Linked DNA regions of Homo sapiens: all the other regions are linked to region 3. Evidence: promoter capture Hi-C in 16 types of primary human blood cells and fetal thymus (Javierre and others, 2016). All regions are on one chromosome and are shown on one strand. The core of a region is centred on a gene start or on the middle of the fragment in contact, and the rest is flanking DNA. Distances in the headings are between cores, read along the strand shown. Region 1 holds the start of ATP1A4 (ATPase Na+/K+ transporting subunit alpha 4). Region 2 overlaps NCSTN (nicastrin). Region 3 holds the start of NECTIN4-AS1 (NECTIN4 antisense RNA 1). Region 4 holds the start of CD84-AS1 (CD84 antisense RNA 1). Region 5 overlaps COPA (coat protein complex I subunit alpha).

What was found. The method cuts DNA at HindIII sites, captures the fragments that hold promoters and counts their contacts. A CHiCAGO score of 5 or more calls a contact.
Region 1: a contact is called between the fragment with the promoter of ATP1A4 here and the fragment with the promoter of NECTIN4-AS1 in region 3, in 7 of 17 cell types (non-activated CD4 T cells, naive B cells, erythroblasts and 4 more). The highest score is 7.9, in non-activated CD4 T cells.
Region 2: a fragment that was not itself captured here is called in contact with the fragment with the promoter of NECTIN4-AS1 in region 3 in 1 of 17 cell types (activated CD4 T cells); the score reaches 5.8 in activated CD4 T cells.
Region 4: a contact is called between the fragment with the promoter of CD84-AS1 here and the fragment with the promoter of NECTIN4-AS1 in region 3, in 12 of 17 cell types (total CD4 T cells, naive CD8 T cells, total CD8 T cells and 9 more). The highest score is 12.1, in total CD4 T cells.
Region 5: a contact is called between a fragment that was not itself captured here and the fragment with the promoter of NECTIN4-AS1 in region 3, in 1 of 17 cell types (non-activated CD4 T cells). The highest score is 5.4, in non-activated CD4 T cells.

The regions. Positions count from the first base shown.
Region 1 is chr1:160,150,282-160,153,763 of GRCh38, reverse strand. ATP1A4 (ATPase Na+/K+ transporting subunit alpha 4) reads right to left here and starts at 2,161. Exons shown (of 22, transcript NM_144699.4): 1 at 1,577-2,161; 2 at 540-599. The coding sequence starts at 1,723. The HindIII fragment of the contact is 4,407 bases long and covers 1-3,482 here.
Region 2 is chr1:160,350,030-160,353,485 of GRCh38, reverse strand. NCSTN (nicastrin) reads right to left here. Exons shown (of 17, transcript NM_015331.3): 5 at 3,236-3,381; 6 at 2,114-2,264; 7 at 1,681-1,790; 8 at 1,280-1,432; 9 at 495-599; 10 at 249-326. Among named protein-coding and RNA genes, the nearest start is that of NCSTN, 8.4 kb to the right of the region's middle. The HindIII fragment of the contact is 1,190 bases long and covers 1,347-2,536 here.
Region 3 is chr1:161,081,298-161,085,090 of GRCh38, reverse strand. It overlaps NECTIN4-AS1 (NECTIN4 antisense RNA 1), which reads right to left and starts at 1,265. Exons shown (of 4, transcript NR_183641.1): 1 at 1,013-1,265; 2 at 279-439; 3 at 63-154. The region is part of intron 1 of NECTIN4 (nectin cell adhesion molecule 4); the gene reads left to right. The HindIII fragment of the contact is 5,052 bases long and covers 1-1,957 here.
Region 4 is chr1:160,535,030-160,538,368 of GRCh38, reverse strand. CD84-AS1 (CD84 antisense RNA 1) reads right to left here and starts at 1,273. Exons shown (of 2, transcript NR_188634.1): 1 at 1,182-1,273. The HindIII fragment of the contact is 1,945 bases long and covers 212-2,156 here.
Region 5 is chr1:160,332,556-160,336,218 of GRCh38, reverse strand. It overlaps COPA (coat protein complex I subunit alpha), which reads left to right. Exons shown (of 33, transcript NM_004371.4): 4 at 897-977; 5 at 2,540-2,616; 6 at 3,662-3,663. Among named protein-coding and RNA genes, the nearest start is that of COPA, 8.9 kb to the left of the region's middle. The HindIII fragment of the contact is 997 bases long and covers 914-1,910 here.

The DNA.
Region 1 (3,482 bases), core at 912-3,411, 930 kb after region 3:
GAAAATATTTGAGAATCCAGCTATCTTCTATTAAAAAGCAAGACATTGAAGAGGTTTGCAAAAATGTAAGATGCTGCTAATTTTTTTGTTTTGAAAAATACAGTTATTTGTCAAAACATATATGAATATATGATAACTTTATTTTTGTTATTTTTAAATGAATTGAGAAATACATTTTAAAACTCTCAATTTTAATTTCTAATATGGTAAATATAGACAGACTTAAGCCACATAAGCACAAGTTCTTTGCGGTCCTAGATAAATTCTAAGAGTGTAAAGGAGACCTAAGGACAAGACGTTTGACCAGCACTGCCCTAAAGCATTCTTATTCTCTTATCTAGTCCCACACTCTCTTTGAGGGTAGTTACCATTTGCAGCTTTTTCCAGGTAGTGTCCATGGAACGTGGCCAGGCAGAGGGTGAGGGGTGGGAACGTTGGACTTGAAGTTAGGGGGCTGGATTCCTAGTTCAGCTTTTGTCCTGGCAGCCTCACAGTCAGAGTTGGAGACTCTCTGCCTCCTCAGGGAGCTTCTTACTCACCTTTGTCAGGTCCACGGAGTACTTGGTGCTCAGCTCTTCCAAGGTTAATTTGTGATCATCCTGAGGGGACAGTAGAGGCATTGAGGGACAGGGGGTGGCCCAGGTCATTTCCAGGGAGAGGGGGAGAAACAGACTGGAGAATGTTAGTCCAAACTGAGACTGCTCCATTTTGTAAGCTCCCTGCAATTCTTTTTTTGAGATGGAGTCACTCTGTTGCCCAGGCTGGTGTACAGTGGTGCGATTTCGACTCACTGCAACCTCTGCCTCCCAACAGGTGTTTCTCCTGCCTCAGCCTCCCAAGCAGCTGGGATTACAGGGGCCCATCACCAGGACCAGCTAATTTTTGTATTTTTAGAGGCGGGGTTTCACCATGTTGGCCAGGCTTGTCTCAAACTCCTGACCTCAGGTGATCTGCCTGCCTCAGCCTCCCAAAGTGCTGGGATTACAGGTGTGAGCCACCACGCCCGGCCTAGCTCCCCACTATTTTACAGGCCTTGGTCAAAGTGAAACATTTCACGGGGGTTCGGGCCAGAGAAACAGCCTGCCTAACCACCTGACCACAGGGCAGACGAAGGCCCAATTAAAGACAAAGACCCCACTAAAGAAACATCCCTATCACATCCTGCTGGGCAAAGGTCCAGGGAATACCATGATTATATTCTGTGGAAACAAGGGCCAAAAATCACCTCATCATGAGAACATCTTATCGATATCCTGCCAGGCAGCAGGCCATACAGCCCAGACTCCTCCCATCCATCCCTATAAGTACCCAGCCTGTAAGTGGCAGTGGACTGTGGAATTAAGCTGATCCCCCACTTCCACAGGTGTCTGCAATATACCTGTGCTTGCTGTTGAGCTGCCCTGTCTCTCTGTGTGTATCTTTTTTTTTTTTTTTAACCCTCTCCTTCCCTCCAAAGCCTAACAGAGAAGAGATGTGGCTCTGGCCTGTGTGTTTCATTCTCAAGGTAAGATGTTAAAGATAGGTGGAGGAGTGTTTTCAGAGGGCAGCTGTCAGCGCCCACTTTGGGTGGCCTCACCATGACCACTTCCTTCTTCAGTTCCTCCATATTGCGCTTCTGTTTTTCCCTCTTCACCATTTTTTTCTTGATAAGCCCTTTTTTAGGTCTTCGTCTTGGACTCTGGTCATGGGGAGCCACTGTCCCTTTCTTCCCCCAAAGCCCCATAGCTATCCCCAGAAAGAGCTGCCCGAGCTCAACTGTGGGAAGAAAGCTGAGAGAGTGAGGCAAGGGGAAGGGAAGAGGGCGCGCGGGCAAGGGGGCCACGAGAAGAGAGTGGTGGGGAGAGAATGAGGGAGCAGAAAGAAAGAGGCAGGGAGGGAGGTGTTGGGTGGTGAAGGTGAGAGAGAGGAAGGGAAGTGAGAGAGGAGAGACTGAGCGGTCCTCCAGCCGTCCGCTGGGAAGAGGAAGAGTCAGGAGTGAGGGAAGAGGGAGGAGAGAAGCCTAGGGTGGAAGGATAAAAAGGTAGAGGTGAGGGAATGCAGTGAGGGCAGGAAACAAGAGGTGAAGCGTAACCAGGTGCCTCAGTGATGAAGATGCCGCAAGGCCCACAGGAAGGTGGGAAATGCAGTGAGAGTGAGGAGGCGGAGTGAGCTTCAAGGATCTGGGAACCCCCCAGTCCCAGGCCCTGTGGTTGCTGGGGCAATGACCCAGGTCTGGCATCACAAAGGCCTCCTGAAAGTTCTAACCAAGAATCCAGAAGTCTTGCCTTGGCGATGGTCCAGGTCTGCTGTCGCAAAGGCCTCATGAAGGTTTTAACCAAGAACCTAGAAGTCTCAGTCTTTGGGTTTGAGGACGATTGGAGCAGGCCCTGCTACAGAAAGAGTTTCAGTCTGAGGGCAGAACTAGAACAAAGTTCTTGTGTGGTCCTGCAGACTTTGGAGGCTTAGAGGTATGCCAAATAGATGACTCAAAAATAAAGCGGGTATTCGGCCGGGCGCGGTGGCTCATGCCTGTAATCCCAGCACTTTGGGAGGCTGAGATCGAGACCTTCGTGGCCAGTATGGTGAAACCCCATCTCTACTAAAAATACAAAATTTAGCCAGGTGTGGTGGTGGGCACCTGTAATCCCAGCTGCTCGGGAGGCTGAGGCAGGAGAAACATCTGAATCCAGAAGGCAGAGGTTGCAGTGAATTGAGATTGCATCACTGCACTCCAGCCTCGGTGACAGAGTGACTCCATCTCAGACAAACAAACAAACAAACAAACAAACAAACAAACAAACAAAAAACCATAGCAGGGAGCTTACAAAATGGTGCAGTTGCAGTTTGGACTAATATTCTCCCGTCTGTTTTTGAGACTCCATCTCAAAAAAAAAAAAAAAGCAGGTACTCTGTGTGTGTTTTTTAGCAAGGCACACTTTTCCACTAACATTGGGTTTGATCTTTTAATTTTAGGAGATCAGCTAGCAGAATAGATCAGATCTTGGGCTCTGGAACCAGTCCTGGATTTCAATCCCAACTCCTCCACTTGTCAGCTGTGTGGCTTTGAGCAAGTTACCTAACCTCTGTACCTCTCTTTTCTTATTTTTAAAAGAGGATACCTTCTACCTTAAGTGAGGTGCTCTACAAAAAGCACTATGTGACATATATAGTATGTGCTCAATAGGTAGCTTGAATTCAGTAGTAGTTTTATTTGTGGATTAATATGCAGCTCTTCTCAGTGAGGGTAAAAATATGCTTTTCCATGTGATAGCGTTGCATTTTCTCATTTTAAAATGATGTACTTACCTCTTCCATTGACCTTCTCTGGTGTCTCAGTAAGTGCTTTGACTATATTAACTGTATATATGTTTTGCATGTCCATAGGATTCTACCTCCTTCCAAGAATAATCTGAAGCATCTATACTTTTCTGTCAACCATTATATATATTTTTCAATTATGCACGTCACATAGATTTTCCCATTCTGTTGTTTGATATTTGTTT
Region 2 (3,456 bases), core at 692-3,191, 730 kb after region 3:
GTGGTAGTCTGCTAGGCAACAAATGATCAGAGAACTACCCAGTCCAGGGAACCAATGGAATGTCACTGAGTTCCTGATTCTTCCCAGCAGCAACAACAGCTGTGGTGTTCATCCTTTGGCCAACACCCAATCCAATCCTGTCTCTTACCCTGTCTCACAGGCCCTGGGGGTTGGTGGAAACAGGGCAGGGGTTGGGGTCTGGATTCTGAGCTGTAGGAATAGGAAATGAGGGGAGATGCTCAGGTTACCTGGTTCCGTACAGACTCATTTTTCTGAGAAACAGGATCTGTGTGCATCCAAAGCTCTAATGAAGTTCTTAAGGCCACCTGGGGGGAGGATGAAGAAACAACACTTAGAATCAGTCTCCTGTTCTGGGCCATGCCTAGGGGATAGAAGTCAAGGGAAGAGGCGGTGGTTCCTGCAGTTAAGACCGCAGAACAACAAAGGAGGAAGATTTAATTAAAAAGGAAGGGGCTGGGGGACATGCCACATACCTGTCCCAGCTCCACAAATGAGTCAACATTCTCTAACTGCACGGGAAACTTGCCCTTCTCCATATCGTAGACCATCCTCGAGCTGCCAATGTAGTCAAAAGTTTCCTGAGAGATGGAGGTAGGTGGGAGGGGGAACAGAGATTCCAAAGGGTTAGGAGAGCCTCGAAGGCGGCCAGATCATCAAAGCTGTAGGTAAGACGACTATCTCAGGTCACCTCAACTGCTAGTCAGCTTACAGTCATGTGACTTTCGGCTTCTCTTGGCCCCACCTCCCAGCTGTGACTATCCCTCATATGTATTACAAGACTTCTGAAGCCCAGAAATGGGGAAAGTAGCCTTAGTAAAGGTCTAAGATGAACATCAGCTATTATGTGTCTGATTCTTAACGGTCCCCCACCTCCAGTGACTCAGCCACAGATGCTGTTCCCTTATTCTGCTGTGGTCCTAGTGATGAGAGTCAGGAGCCTAACGGCTCCTGGATGGAGATAGCAGTAAAGGAGTCCAGAGAATAAAAGTAAAAGGCCGCCTCCAATATATCTTATCAGTGGGGGAAAGAGGGGGCTGGTTACATACCAATTCAGGGTGTAAAAGCTTCCTAAAAAGAAGGAATCTAAGCTTCCTAAAATGGAGGAATCTAAAGGGGAGACACATGTAGACACATCCAGAAGCTCTGTGCTGGTTAACAACTTAGGTCAAGTGCTGAGGTCTTCTCCAACCAGTAGCCACTCTCATCTTTACTATCCTCTTTCTTCCCTGCCATTGCACCCCAGCCAAAGAGCCCTTACCCCTTGAAAGAAGACAAACATGACATTGCGGGGCAGGGTGGTCACATCAGGTGCCTTTTGCAAAGCTTCAGCAGCAGCCAGCTGGGTGACAAAGGAAGCCACTGCGCTTTCAGCCCCTGGGGCCACATTCCAGAAAAAGGAACGACTATCCAGCTAGGTACAACAGAAGAAAAGTCAGGGGATATATACTTTAAAACTGGCCCCAAACCTCCTTTCTTGCTCCAGTCAAGAGAATATACCTGTCCTGTGGCAATGGAGACAACCCAGGAGTCCCACAGCCCAGATTCCTCCCCATTTGAGGCTTCCCAATTTAGCAACTTTGAAATCTGATATGCTAGAGCGGGGCCTACCAGCTCTTTTTGTGCCAGCCCTGCCCATCCTGATCAGAAGCCAACACTCACCCGGGTGGCAGCAACCACAACCCTGTCGTCAGGCTTTAATGTCCCAGTTGTATTTATAGGCTTTAGCATGCTCCACACATTGTAATCAGACAGGGGGTCACAGACGATTTCTAAGCAGGACACAAACAATGAGAGATCAACAAGGCTAAAGGAGAAGGTAGCTATAAAGGCAACATTGGAAATCTCTGACCAGTGCCCCACGGACTCTAAGTCGTTTTCTCTACTTCCAACAGTCCGAGGTTGGCTTCTCTGCCACTATCCACTTTAGGAACAAGCTGCCTAAATTTTTCAGAATTGTTTCTAGTTCTCCCATGCAGAGCTCCTTCATGGTGTCTACTCCTTCCCTATTACAGTCTCTCTAACATTCCCTGGCCTGGTTCCACTCTCCCTCTGCCCCTTATTCCATTACCCTCATGGTTCGGATCTGCCCTACCTGGGTTGATGCTGAAGGTGCTTTGGATGGAGCTGCGCCGCATGCAGGTGGCAGTGCTGATGACAGCATGCATGTGTGAAAAGAGCTGCATGGCACATAGTGGGAAGGTTGGTGCTGAGCCATTCTGACTCAGGTTGTGATCTTGATAGCACTGAAAGGGGAGATGGACCCCACTGAGACAGCTAGTTTGTGGAGGCCCTCCCTTACATCCCAGAAGGAGGAGGGCCCAGTTCCATCCTTTTGGGATGGAGCCACACCCTTTTCGGAGACATTTATCCCTGAGCTATAGTTATCCTAGAACCACCATAGGATCTATAAGGTCAAAGAAAAAAACTCATCAAGAGTTACAAAGGGTTGCAGACTCAGTGGTTTAGCTGGAGATGAAACTATCCCATTCCAGATGGCCTGGCCCAATTTGAAGCTTCAGCCACTGAAAAGATTCAGTGTGGTCTGATACAAAGAGCACCAAACTAGAGATAGGAAATCAGATATGACACAGCTTGGAGATCAACTCACCATACAACTTTGGACAAATCTCTTAACTACTCTATGAGTCAAAATGGAAATACTAGACCAGAATTAAGGCATATTAGAGCTAAAAAGAAGCTCAGAAATTACCAAATTGAATTTCTCAATCTCTAATCCAATGCTTTTTTTTTTAACGATACTAGTGGTTCTTAACCTGGGCTGTGTACCTTGTTTCATATTACTCTTTCAGATATTCTTTATATTTTCTTCTAGTCTAAAAGGCTTTAATGCTGTAATATCAGGTAGGAGCAAAATGTGGGGAAAGAATGTGAGAAGAACTAACGTCTTGGTTCTTTTTGGAGCAACCGTCTTTCAGCAGGTGTACCAGAAGAATGAGCCACCCTCCAAATAGGAGAGCCTATAAAATAATCCTTTTTTTTTTTTTTTTTTTGTGACACAGGGCCTTGCTCTGTCACCCAGGCTGGAGTGCAATGGTGCCATCTCAGCTCACTGAAACCTCTGCCTCCCGGCCTCAAGTGATCCTCCTGTCTCAGCCTCCCGGGTGGCTGGGACTACGTGCACACACCACCACACCTGGCTAGAAAAATAATCTTCTTTCTAACTGGAATTGCTAGGAGCTGGCAGTGTCATTACCTGCTTGATGACTTTGGTTTCATTTTCATCTTCAAGAAGAAAGATGGGGAAACTAAAGTCTTCATAAGCCAAACCATTGCCCAGCGAATTCCACTGTATTTCTCTGCAGTGAGCAAACTCTGGCCCATAGGAATTGGAGTAAACACCTGAAGGGAAGGATGGGGAATAGGGGGACTGGTTACTGGGACACCAAGTACTTAGGAACCAGGTGACGGCAGAAG
Region 3 (3,793 bases), core at 16-2,515:
CAAGGCCAAGGTTATGGGGCAAAGAGTGGATGGAAAGGGGTTTGCTGGGTTGTTTGTGTCACCTGTCCTGGATGGTGAGCTTCGGTGCGTCCCTCCTAGGTCCTTTCTCACCCCAGACTCACCCACATACTCCAGCTCTCGGTGGAGATTGTTGCTGTCAGGTAAGGGGAGGCAGGAGTTAACAAAGGAGCATGAGACCCTAGACAGCCTGGACCCCTCCCCCTAGCCCCAGGCAGGATTCCCCTCACCCCCCCAAACCCACACCAGACAACCCTTACCCAGGCCTGGAGCCAGAGCTGGTTTTTCTGGTGGTGGCAGCAGCAGAGCCCTGACAGAGATTCCCAGGGAGAGGCCTCCTTGGGGGGCCAGAGCTGCTGAGGGGCCCAGGGGAGTGGCTGGGGGTAGTGGTGAGAAGGTTGGCAGTCCTTTTAGTAGGAACCTGAGGAGCAAGGGGAGAGGGAACATTTGTTTTGTTCTGCTGGGGAGTCCTTAATGGCAAGTTCCCATCACCTGGAGGGACAGTGACCTCATCTCTGGGTACTTCCACCTTGAGCCTGAGATTAATATGTCTTCAAGTCTTGGGGTAAGGTGGGGAAGGATGCTGGGGGTGACATTCCAGGCAGGATGCAGAGGCAAAGGCTCACAGCCACATACCACAGACCAAGGGCAGCTGAGACAGAGAGACATGTGGAAGCCAAGATAAACCGACAGCAAAATATTTACTATGTGTGCAGAGTTCCGCGAGACAAGAATGCACTCCATGCATACAGAGGGTGTGACATGCACACGGAATCATGTGTGCACACACATTCACACATACTGATACACAGCTCTTCCCTCTGGACACAGACAAGTAAGTACGTATATGCCCCTAAGATAAGACATGAACACATATATGTGCCAAACACCCACCAGTTTATGCAAGAAGATAGCCTCACATGCGTTTGAACCAGCACTAAGATTGGCCAGGCCCTCAGCCACAGCTCCCCATACACAAAAAACTCATACTTACTCCCTTCCTCCTTCTCACAGACCCACCTCTACGATCCCCTACATTCACATCTGTAAGTCCCAGCAGGGGATACTGATGGAGAAAGGCCCCTCATAAAGAAAAGATACTTCCTTAAAGATGCTCTTGATGGCTGGGTGTCAGCAAGTGCCAGCCTCAGTTTCCCCTCCTGAGATCAGAGGCCAGGCTCACATAGGAAGGAAAGTTGAGACCCAGGCATAGGGTGGGGAAGAGCCAGCCAGCCCAAACCTGGAATGGAGGGCCTGTCTGGGAGCGGGCGGGGTACACAAAGGGCTGGGCTCCAAAGAGGCCCGTGGGGGCCTGGCCAGGGTGGGGGAGGCCAAGGGCAGGGATCCCGTCTGGCCAGTTGGGCCTGTTCTCTCCCTTGCGCAAGGTGGTGGTGGCTGTGGCTAGGCTTGCTGCTGTGAGGCAGCTTCTGAGTCACCAAGGCTCCTGACCAGCGTCCTGGTACTCCAGGGAGGAGGGGTGGGAGGGTCAGAGGGAGGAGTGTCTAACCAGCCGGAGTCCACCAGCCTCAGTAAACAATTTGCAACAGAAGGGTCCCTGGGCTTGGCCTGGCCTGGCCACCACATGCCCTCAAGGTGACCTCACCAGGCAGGCAATGTGTCTCCTTTGGTCTGATGACATCATCATGCTGACGCCAGGCTGACACTGGGTGGAGGAGAGAAGGAGGAGGCAGTCCTGGCCTGCCCTGGCCTGGAAACCTGGACTTCTGGGTCTGTTTAGACAAGGACAGGGATTCTAGGGCCCAAATTCTATTTTCTCTTCTCTTGTACCCTAGGGTGGTAGGGGGGTATGCAGCTGGAGGAGGGTGTTGCCTCAGGCTGAGATGTTCCTACTAAGTAGTGGATTTAGAACAATGAGGATCTGTGGGAGATATCCAGAAGGGAATTTCCTGTTTTACTGGGTTCCTCGGTCTGTGAAGCTTCAGTGTGTCCCCTAGGGGTGGGGATCGTGGACTCACAGGTGAGAACATGGAGGATTGACATTCAGGCATGCGCTGGGTATCTAATGCCTGCTGTACCCTAAGAAGGTATTTTCCAAGGGAAATATAGGTGATTAGTGGTGGGGAGGCAGCAGGTGGTTGGCTAGTATAGGAATAGGGATGGAAAATATGCCATCTGATATTGTCTCAGAAATAGTCTTTAGAAAGGTTTGAGTGTCCTAATGGGGCAGGTCTTGGGATCCCTGTGACCTTCACAGACACCAGCGTTTGAAGCAGAGGATATGTTGTGCTGGAGATCCCCTACCCAAGCTCACTCACAGCCCTTCCTTGGCAGCCCTGTTCTTTCCAGTGCCAGGAGGAGAAAAAGCCTGGGAGGGGTGCGGGTGGTTAGCTGGACTCCCAGGCTGGGCTGGGTGGGACCAACATTAGCTTAGGCAGGTCAGGGCTCTGGTATCTGGCCCTGCAGGTCTATCCTGTCCCATCTGGGCCCTCTCAGCATCCTTCTTCCCTCTCCTTCTGGTAGCAGGGCCACAGGAACCCCTTCCTGTGCTCTATGTGCTGCCTCACTAAAACTCTCTGATCCATTCTGGTGGGGCTTCATTTCCTCCCTCCATGCCTGCCTCCTTCCATCCCTATTTTTTTCCTCTGTCCAGTCTGGAGGTGCTCCCTTTGGCAGTGAACCCAATTAGCTAGCCCAGCCTATCCTGCCTCCACCCCAAGGTTACCATGTAATGTTCCTCCCTGGCCAGCCCAATGCTTGTTCCTCCTCATTTTTTTTGGTGGCGGGGGGATGGTGTCTTGCTTTGTTGCCCAAGCTGGAGGTCAGTGGCATGATCTTAGCTCACTGCAACCTCCACCTCCTGGGTTCACCAGTTCTCCTACCTCAGCCTCCCGAGTAGCTGGGACTACAGGCGCCCGCCACCACGCCCATCTAATTTTTTTATTTTTAGTAGAGACAGGGTTTCACCATTTTGGCCAGGCTGGTCTCAAACTCCTGACCTCAGGTGATCTGCCTGCCTCAGCTTCCCAAAGTGCTGGGATTAGGGTGTGAGCCACTGTGCCCAGCCTGTTCCTCCTCATTCTACACTTTCCTTCTGTCTCTCTCATTTATTAATTCACCTGTTCATTCATTCACTTGGTCAATAAATGTTGACGGAACCCACATACCACTGAGCACTAAATCAGAAACAATGGTTCCAATGGTGATGTGAGGCCCAGAAAATAGGGATAAAGTGCTGTGATGGGAATGAAAGCAGGGTGCTGGGGAGCACAGAGGAAGGGCACCTAATGCTGCCTGGGGTGGGGGTGGGAGGAGGGAGGACTCCTGCTGGAAATGATGTCTAAGCGGAGTCTTAAATGATGAGTAGGTGCTACCAGATATAGGGAGGAGGGCATTCCAGGCAGCGGGTACGGTGTGAGCAGAGGTGAGGAACAACAAGGTGTGTGGCTTGCTGGGCAGAGGCAGGGACAACACACTGTTGGGGGTTGCTGGGGCACGCGTTCCAAGGCAAGGAGCTCCTGCCATCCCAGCATGTTCCTTTGCTCTGCCCCCAGGCCCCAATCCCCATATTTCACTTTTGATTCCATGACTCCAAATTTATTTCTTCCCAAAAATGAACATCCTCAGGCCCTGTCTCCCTCATAAGTTACTCATCCTAGAAATTTAGGAGCTGCCTTTGAGTCTTTCCTCTCCTTCATCTCTCTTTCTGGTCAGTGACCAAATCCCTGTCAAATCTCCCCCCAGAACTGTCCCCTCCTCTCCACCCTAGCACTACTGCACCCAGGCTGCAGCTGCAGCCTTCAGTGACTGCCCCTCA
Region 4 (3,339 bases), core at 24-2,523, 550 kb after region 3:
AAGGAAAGGAAAGAAAGAAAGAGAGAGAGAAAGTTAGTTTATAATTAGAAGAAATTCTTTAACCTGAAAAAAAATGGAAAGATATTCAGTGGTCTAATTGCCAAAAGTGTACCAGCCTAGATGGTCTTAAGGGCTAGTCCTATCACCTACAATGAAAGGATAATTCCCAGTCATCTTAACTGTCCCAAGGCATAGAAAACAGTGGGAAGCTTCCAAATTCATTAAATACTATAATATAACACTGATTCCAAAGCCAGATAAGGATGATCCCCCACAAAGAGATACATAGGCCAGGAGTTAGCAAACTATGGCGTGTGGCCACATCCAGTCTGCCATCTGTTTTTATTTGACCCACGAACTAAGAATAGTTTACATTTTTAAAATGGTTGAAAAGAATTCAAAGAATAATAATATTTTGGGACATGTTAAAATTATGTGAAATTCAAATTTCAGCATCCATAAATAAAGTTTTATTGAAACACAGCCAACACGCATTCTTTTATGTGTTTATTATGGCTGCTTCCATACTACACCAGCAGAGTTGAGTAGTTGCAAAGGAGATTGTATGGTCCACAAAGTCCAATATTCACTACTGGGACCTTTACAGAAAAAGTCTGCCACATCCTGATATAGTCCAATCTCACTTATAAATATAAATGTTAAAAATCTTAAACTTCAGTCAATTTTAAAGCAATGCATTAAAAGAAAAAAAAATGCGACCAAGTAGGATTTTATCCTTAGAGTGCCAGGATGATTTATCTTTAAGAAACCATCTATTGTAATTTGCTGTTCAAACAGATTAAAGGAGATGAAAAAAATAATCATCCTGACATAGTCTACAATATATATTTGATAAAACTGAATACCCATGACTGATTTAAAAAGTTTTCAAGAAAGCTAAAAATAGAATGTGTTTTAGTCAATATCCAATTTTAAAAAACTGAGACCATGTTAAATACTGAAAACTCAACAAGCTGAATATAGGGAATTGATTCCAAAAGTGATGGAGGAGTAAAACAGGGAAGCTGAGGTTACCAAGCAATTAATAATTCCAGGAAGTTGCTATGGAACTTTGTCCCTATGGAAATTTGTCTTGGGAATCAGTGCTGCCAGCTTTCAAGATTCTAAGAGTTCACAGTCTCATCAAAACTGTGAGACTCTGGGAGACAAAAATAACTCACCACTGCAGATGCCACCATCAAAGCCTGATCCCACCAGTACCACACTAGCAAGACTTCTGACATGCTTGCTGGAACTGCACTGCTACACCAGGAACCCTGAAGCGGTACTCATCTTCTGCTATCACTGCCACTACTGAAAACATTACCAGAAACCAAGATTATGGAAAAATATATAATTTATTCCTTCCATCCAACTTTAACCAATACCACCCAGTGACAAAATCTAATCAGAAGCCATCTGACAATGGAAATGATAAATGTAGTTTGCAGACTTCTAACCTTCTGAAAAACAAGGAACACAGAAGGGTGGGAATAGAGCTGAGAGCAAATAAGCAAATGACTGGCTCGGGTTAAACTTTTACAACTTGATACAGCATATGTAGCAAACATTTATTGGAAACATTAGAGGCATTCTTAATAAAGAAATGAATACAAGTAACCATTCTTGTATTCAGTGAATACAAGATCACTGCTACTCTTCAACTGTATTGTATTGAAGATCCTTGTTAGTAAAGTGAGTCAAGAAATACATATAAGAGGCTATCTCACATCTAGAATCAGTCATTTTTCTAAGGGGCATTGGTTCTTCAGAGAGAATATTATTTATCCACCAAGATCTTGGATAATGTCACTAATTTTTAGTTACTTAAGAAATATGTGAACACATTTCTATCATCTTTTTAAAAATCAGTGTAAAAGTATAGAGATAGAGAGAGTGATGTCAGCAAAGTGGTGGACTAGGAAATTCCAAACTCTCTCTTTCCCCCAACTTAGAGTAATAAAAAAACAGCCAAACAAACAAAAAAAAACCCAAATGGTTGAATTAACCTTATAGGGACTCTGGAAAACAGTCAGAGTTTTATAACAACCAATCAAATGCCCAATGAAGAAAAAGCCACTTTTGAAATGGTAGGAAAAGTTCCATGGCATTTTTCTTGCCCTTGCCCCATCCCCTCCTCATCCCAACAGAAAGCTTGTTTAGAGGAGGCAGGAGTTCACTTCTCAGTTCCCTCTCTTGAATGGGAGGGAACATAACAGATCTTATTTGCAATATTCTAATCTGTCTTAGGAGTCCATGAAGAACTGGTCTCTATTTCACTTAATTCAGATCTCAAGTGGGAAAGTGCCACTACTATGAACCCAAAGCTATCAAAATAAAGAAAATAATAAAGATTAGACCAGAGATAAAATAGAGAAAATTAATGAACCAAAAAGTTGATTACTTAAAAGGATCAACGAAATTGGCAAATTTAGTTAGAGTGGTTATGGAAAAAAAGACAGAGTGCTCAAATTACTAAAATTGGAAATGAAAATGAGGACACTACAACCAATTTTTCAGAAATGAATAGAAGAGACTACTACAAACAAATTGGATAACATAGATGAAGTAGACACAATTTTTACAAAGACTGAATCATGAAGAAATAGAAAATCTGATTAGACCTATAACTACTAAGAATATTAAGTAAATAATTTTAAAACAACTTCCCAACAAGGAGAAGTCCTGGATCAGAAGGCTTCACTGGTCACCAAAGAGTTTTAAAAGATTTTACACTAATCCTTCTTAAACTCTTCTAAACATTGAAGATAAATATATTAATTCACTCTGTCTTCCATGACAAAATACCACAGACTTGGTAGCTTAAACAATTGAAATTTATTTCTCACAGTTCTGAAGGCTTCGATGTCCAAGATCAAGGTGCCAGCTGATTCAATTGCTGGTGAAACTCTCCCTGGCTTGTAGGTGGCCAACTTCTCAATACGCCCTCATGTGGTAGAGAGAGAGCAAGAACTTTAGTCTCTCCTTTCTTATCAGTATGCTTATCTCATCATGAGGGTCCCACTCACATGACCTCATCCAAACCTAATTATCTCTCAAAGTCCCCATCTCCAAATATCATCACATTGGGGGTTAGAGCTTCAATATATACATTTTGTAGAGGCATAAACACTCAGTCCTTAACAAGAAGAGACCACTTCCTAATTCACTCTGTGACACCAGCACTACCCTGATACGAAAGCCAAACAAAGACACTAAAAGTAAACAAAACTACAAACCAATATTCCTTATAAATATTTATATAAAAATTCTTACAAAATAAGTAGCAAACAAAATTCAGCAGCATATTAAAAGGATTATACAACATGACAGTGAAAT
Region 5 (3,663 bases), core at 163-2,662, 750 kb after region 3:
TGGGATCACATCCGGCTAATTTTTTTTTGTATTTTTGTAGAGACAGGGTTTCCCCATGTTGGCCAGGCCGGTCCCAAACTCCTGACCTCAGGTGATCCCCCTGCCTTGACCTCCCAAAGTGCTGGGATTACAGGTATGAGCCATCGTGCCCAGCCTGTCATACTTTTTAAAAGTGATGGGTAAAGCACTTAAGGGGTCTATATTCAAGCCAAGAGCACAATTTTGCAGTAGAAAAAAGAGTTGCAAATCAAGCCCTGGATAAATATCTCCTGCTATTAAATGCAGATGGCTTCTTCCCAAAGAAAGAAAAACTTTTTTTTTTTTTTTTTTTTTTTGAGACTGAGTCTCGCTCTGTTACCCAGGCTGGAGTACAATGGCATGATTTCGGCTCACTGCAACCTCTTGTATCCTGAGTTCAAGCGATTCTCCTGCCTCAGCCTCCCGAGTAGCTGGGACTACAGGCACATGCCACCACGCCTGGCTAATTTTTTGTATTTTTAGTAGAGACAGGGTTTCACTATGTTAGCCAGGATGGTCTCGATCTCCTGACCTTGTGATCCACCCGCCTCGACCTCCCAAAGTGCTGGGATTACAGGCATGAGTGACCACGCCCAGCCTGAAAAACTTCAATAATTTTATCTTTAGCTTTTCCCTAATCCTACCCCAACCCCATGTTGTTTATCTGACCTATATTTTCATTCTTGTTCTTTTCCCCTCAAATCTTAAACAAGGCTTTCTACCAAGGTTCCTACCTATTTAGAAATGCCAAAATACAAATAATGTATATAAATCTATATTTATATACATATTTCTATCTCTGTAAAGATATCAATTTCTCTGAGCCTTTTAGAGGCTCAATAACTATTTCTGTTTCTTAGTTTGATTTGTCTTTGCAGGTTTGGAATTACAAGCTTCGGCGCTGTCTTTTCACATTGCTTGGGCACTTAGATTATATTCGCACCACGTTTTTTCATCATGTAAGTAGTCATGGTGGCGCTAGTTTTGGAGCATTCTTAGTTTCCCCATAGTAATCTTTATTTGATCCTTGAGAACCCATGTTTTAATAATAGAGTTGTTTTTGGAGTGGCTCTTCTACAATCTGTGTGGTATTGTCCTTTCTGCTTTTTTTCTTTCTGCAAAAGGAAGCACTTGGGATTATACTGAATTTAATTTTATTGGATTCAGTGGATTCTATGGGAAGTCATTGTTTCTCTGTAGGGAAAAGTAGGGATTTGATTTCAGATTTGCTGAACCAAAAAACAAAAGTTTGCCAGCTAATCCCATGTAGGGTATTATTAGTAAGTAGTAGGTGTGTCTGGAAGAAGGTCAGACTAAGATGCCATTTTGATCAGCTAACAAACGTTTCGAAGTATTAACAATCATACCCCTCTATCCTAGGATTTTTGGGTCTGGTGGAGGCTGTTCCCTTAGCCAGGCTTACTACTTTCTTTGATCTGCCAGGTAACATAGTAGATTTAGATAGTGAGGTGCAGATTACAGACTCCCAACCTCTGAATCCAGTTGCACCCTGACAGGATCTCCTTATAGTTCTGTGTATTAGCATTAACTTACACTATTCTTTGATTGCCAGTAAATTAAGTCTCTTTAATTAAGTTAGAAAGAATATGATGAAATAAACAATTTACTGGTTGAGTATATATTATTTCTTTTTTTAATTAAAAAATTCTAGGATAGGAGAGAATGAGAAAATTACAGCTTAAACATTTGAGAATGATAACCACTCAATAAGATAACTTATTAAGTAGGAATTATTTGTCATTGCCATAAAGGACTTCCTGAAGACCCTTGCCTAGAACAAGTTGCCATCTACCTGGAAAGTTACGAAAGACCTTATTTTCTTTCATTTTACCAGCTCACTAAATATGTGTGTGCCTTATACTTGCTAAGCTTTGTGCTAAATACTGAAGGTAGAGATACTATCTCTATTGAAAATAGAAATACCATCTATTTTCAGTGTTTAACACAAAGCTTAGCAAGTGTAGTAAGAAGGAAGTGTAAATAAGAAATACTTCCTTTTCTCAACAATCTTATAGACTCCAAAAAGGCTAAATTGTCTTTACATGTTACTTTCTGCTTTGCTTGCTGAGACCTGGGAATTTTTTGAAACTGGACAGAAAGAAGTCAGACAATAAAATAATATTCCCATCCTAGAGTTAAAGGTAGAAGAGTCTTTCACAGGATCTTAATTTACATGATTAACTGTATATAAATACACACACACACACACACACATATAGAAGTAAATGTAAATGTATGTTTCACTATCTGCCTCTGAGAATGTATTGTGCCTCTAACTGGCTTCCATTCTTAAGTCTTATAGGTGAAAGTGCCGAAGTTGAGAAAAGCTGTTAGAGTGGTAGAGAAAAGGAGACAGCTAACCTGATAGCAAAAGCAGCAGCCCCTTTGCTAATGTAGCTGAGCCGTTAAGCAATGCAGTTCTTTAGAGAAAAATGATTACAAGAACCTGATAGAACAGATTTGTTTAATGTTTAAAGCCTTTGTCTGGAATATCTTTCAGGAATATCCCTGGATTCTGAGTGCCTCCGATGATCAGACCATCCGAGTGTGGAACTGGCAATCTAGAACCTGTGTTTGGTAAAGCAGGAGGCAGAGGGCTCGAAAAGAGTCTTCATTTTTCCTAGTTTTTCATAATGAGCTTCTCTTAGAACAATCTTCTCCCTTCTCAAATGGACTATGTCGGCTGATTAATTACTGATTGTATTTGTAGGATGCTTTTAAGTGCAAAATAATAAATGTAGAGGCAATCCCATATATGAATCTGGACTTCCAATAATTTCTTACCAGGAAGAGAAGTCATATAGCCTTTTAGAACAAGAACTTTTAGCTGGTTTTCAATTATTTTCCCATAAAACCTGAGTCAAGGTCTAGACCTTTGTCTTATTTTGTGTTTGGAGCTGGAGCTTTACATAGAACTTTCCATGAAGAGTTAGGGACCATTTAAAGTGATGGCCTTGGCCCGGCGCCATGGCTCATGCCTGTAATCCCAGCACTTTGGGAGGCCAAGGCAGGCAAATCACCTGAGGTTAGAAGTTCGAGACCAGCCTGGCCAAGATGGTGAAACCCCGTCTCTACTAAAAATACAAAAATAAGCTGGACGCGGTGGCGTGTGCCTATAGTCCCAGCTACTCGGGAGGCTGAGGCGGAGAATCGCTTGAACTGGGGAGGCAGAGGTTGCAGTGAGCCAAGATTGCGCCACTGCACTCCAGCCTGGGCAACAGAGTGAAATTCCATCTCAAAAAAATAATAACAATAAAAAATAAAGTGATGGCCTTTAAAAGGGATACCCTACTAAAATCTCACAGATAATTTACAGTATGGATTACTGAGATTACATTTATTTTGATATTTTAAAATATTTTTGAGAGAAGAGCTATGTAATCTTAGTCCTCCTGAAATTAGTAATATTTAAATACTAAAGCATTAGAGGCAAGAAGAGAACTATTGTTAAAATAGCTGACTGGGCTTATTATTATTAGTTCAGAATTGGTAGGATGACCTGCCTTTGTCTCCATAAAAGTAAAACTGGATAAGCATTTATTGAATATGGAGAAAGGTATTTAGTTTAGGAGTCTGTTGACTTCCACCTCTAATTTGGTATTGTCTTTTTTTTTTCTTGCAGTG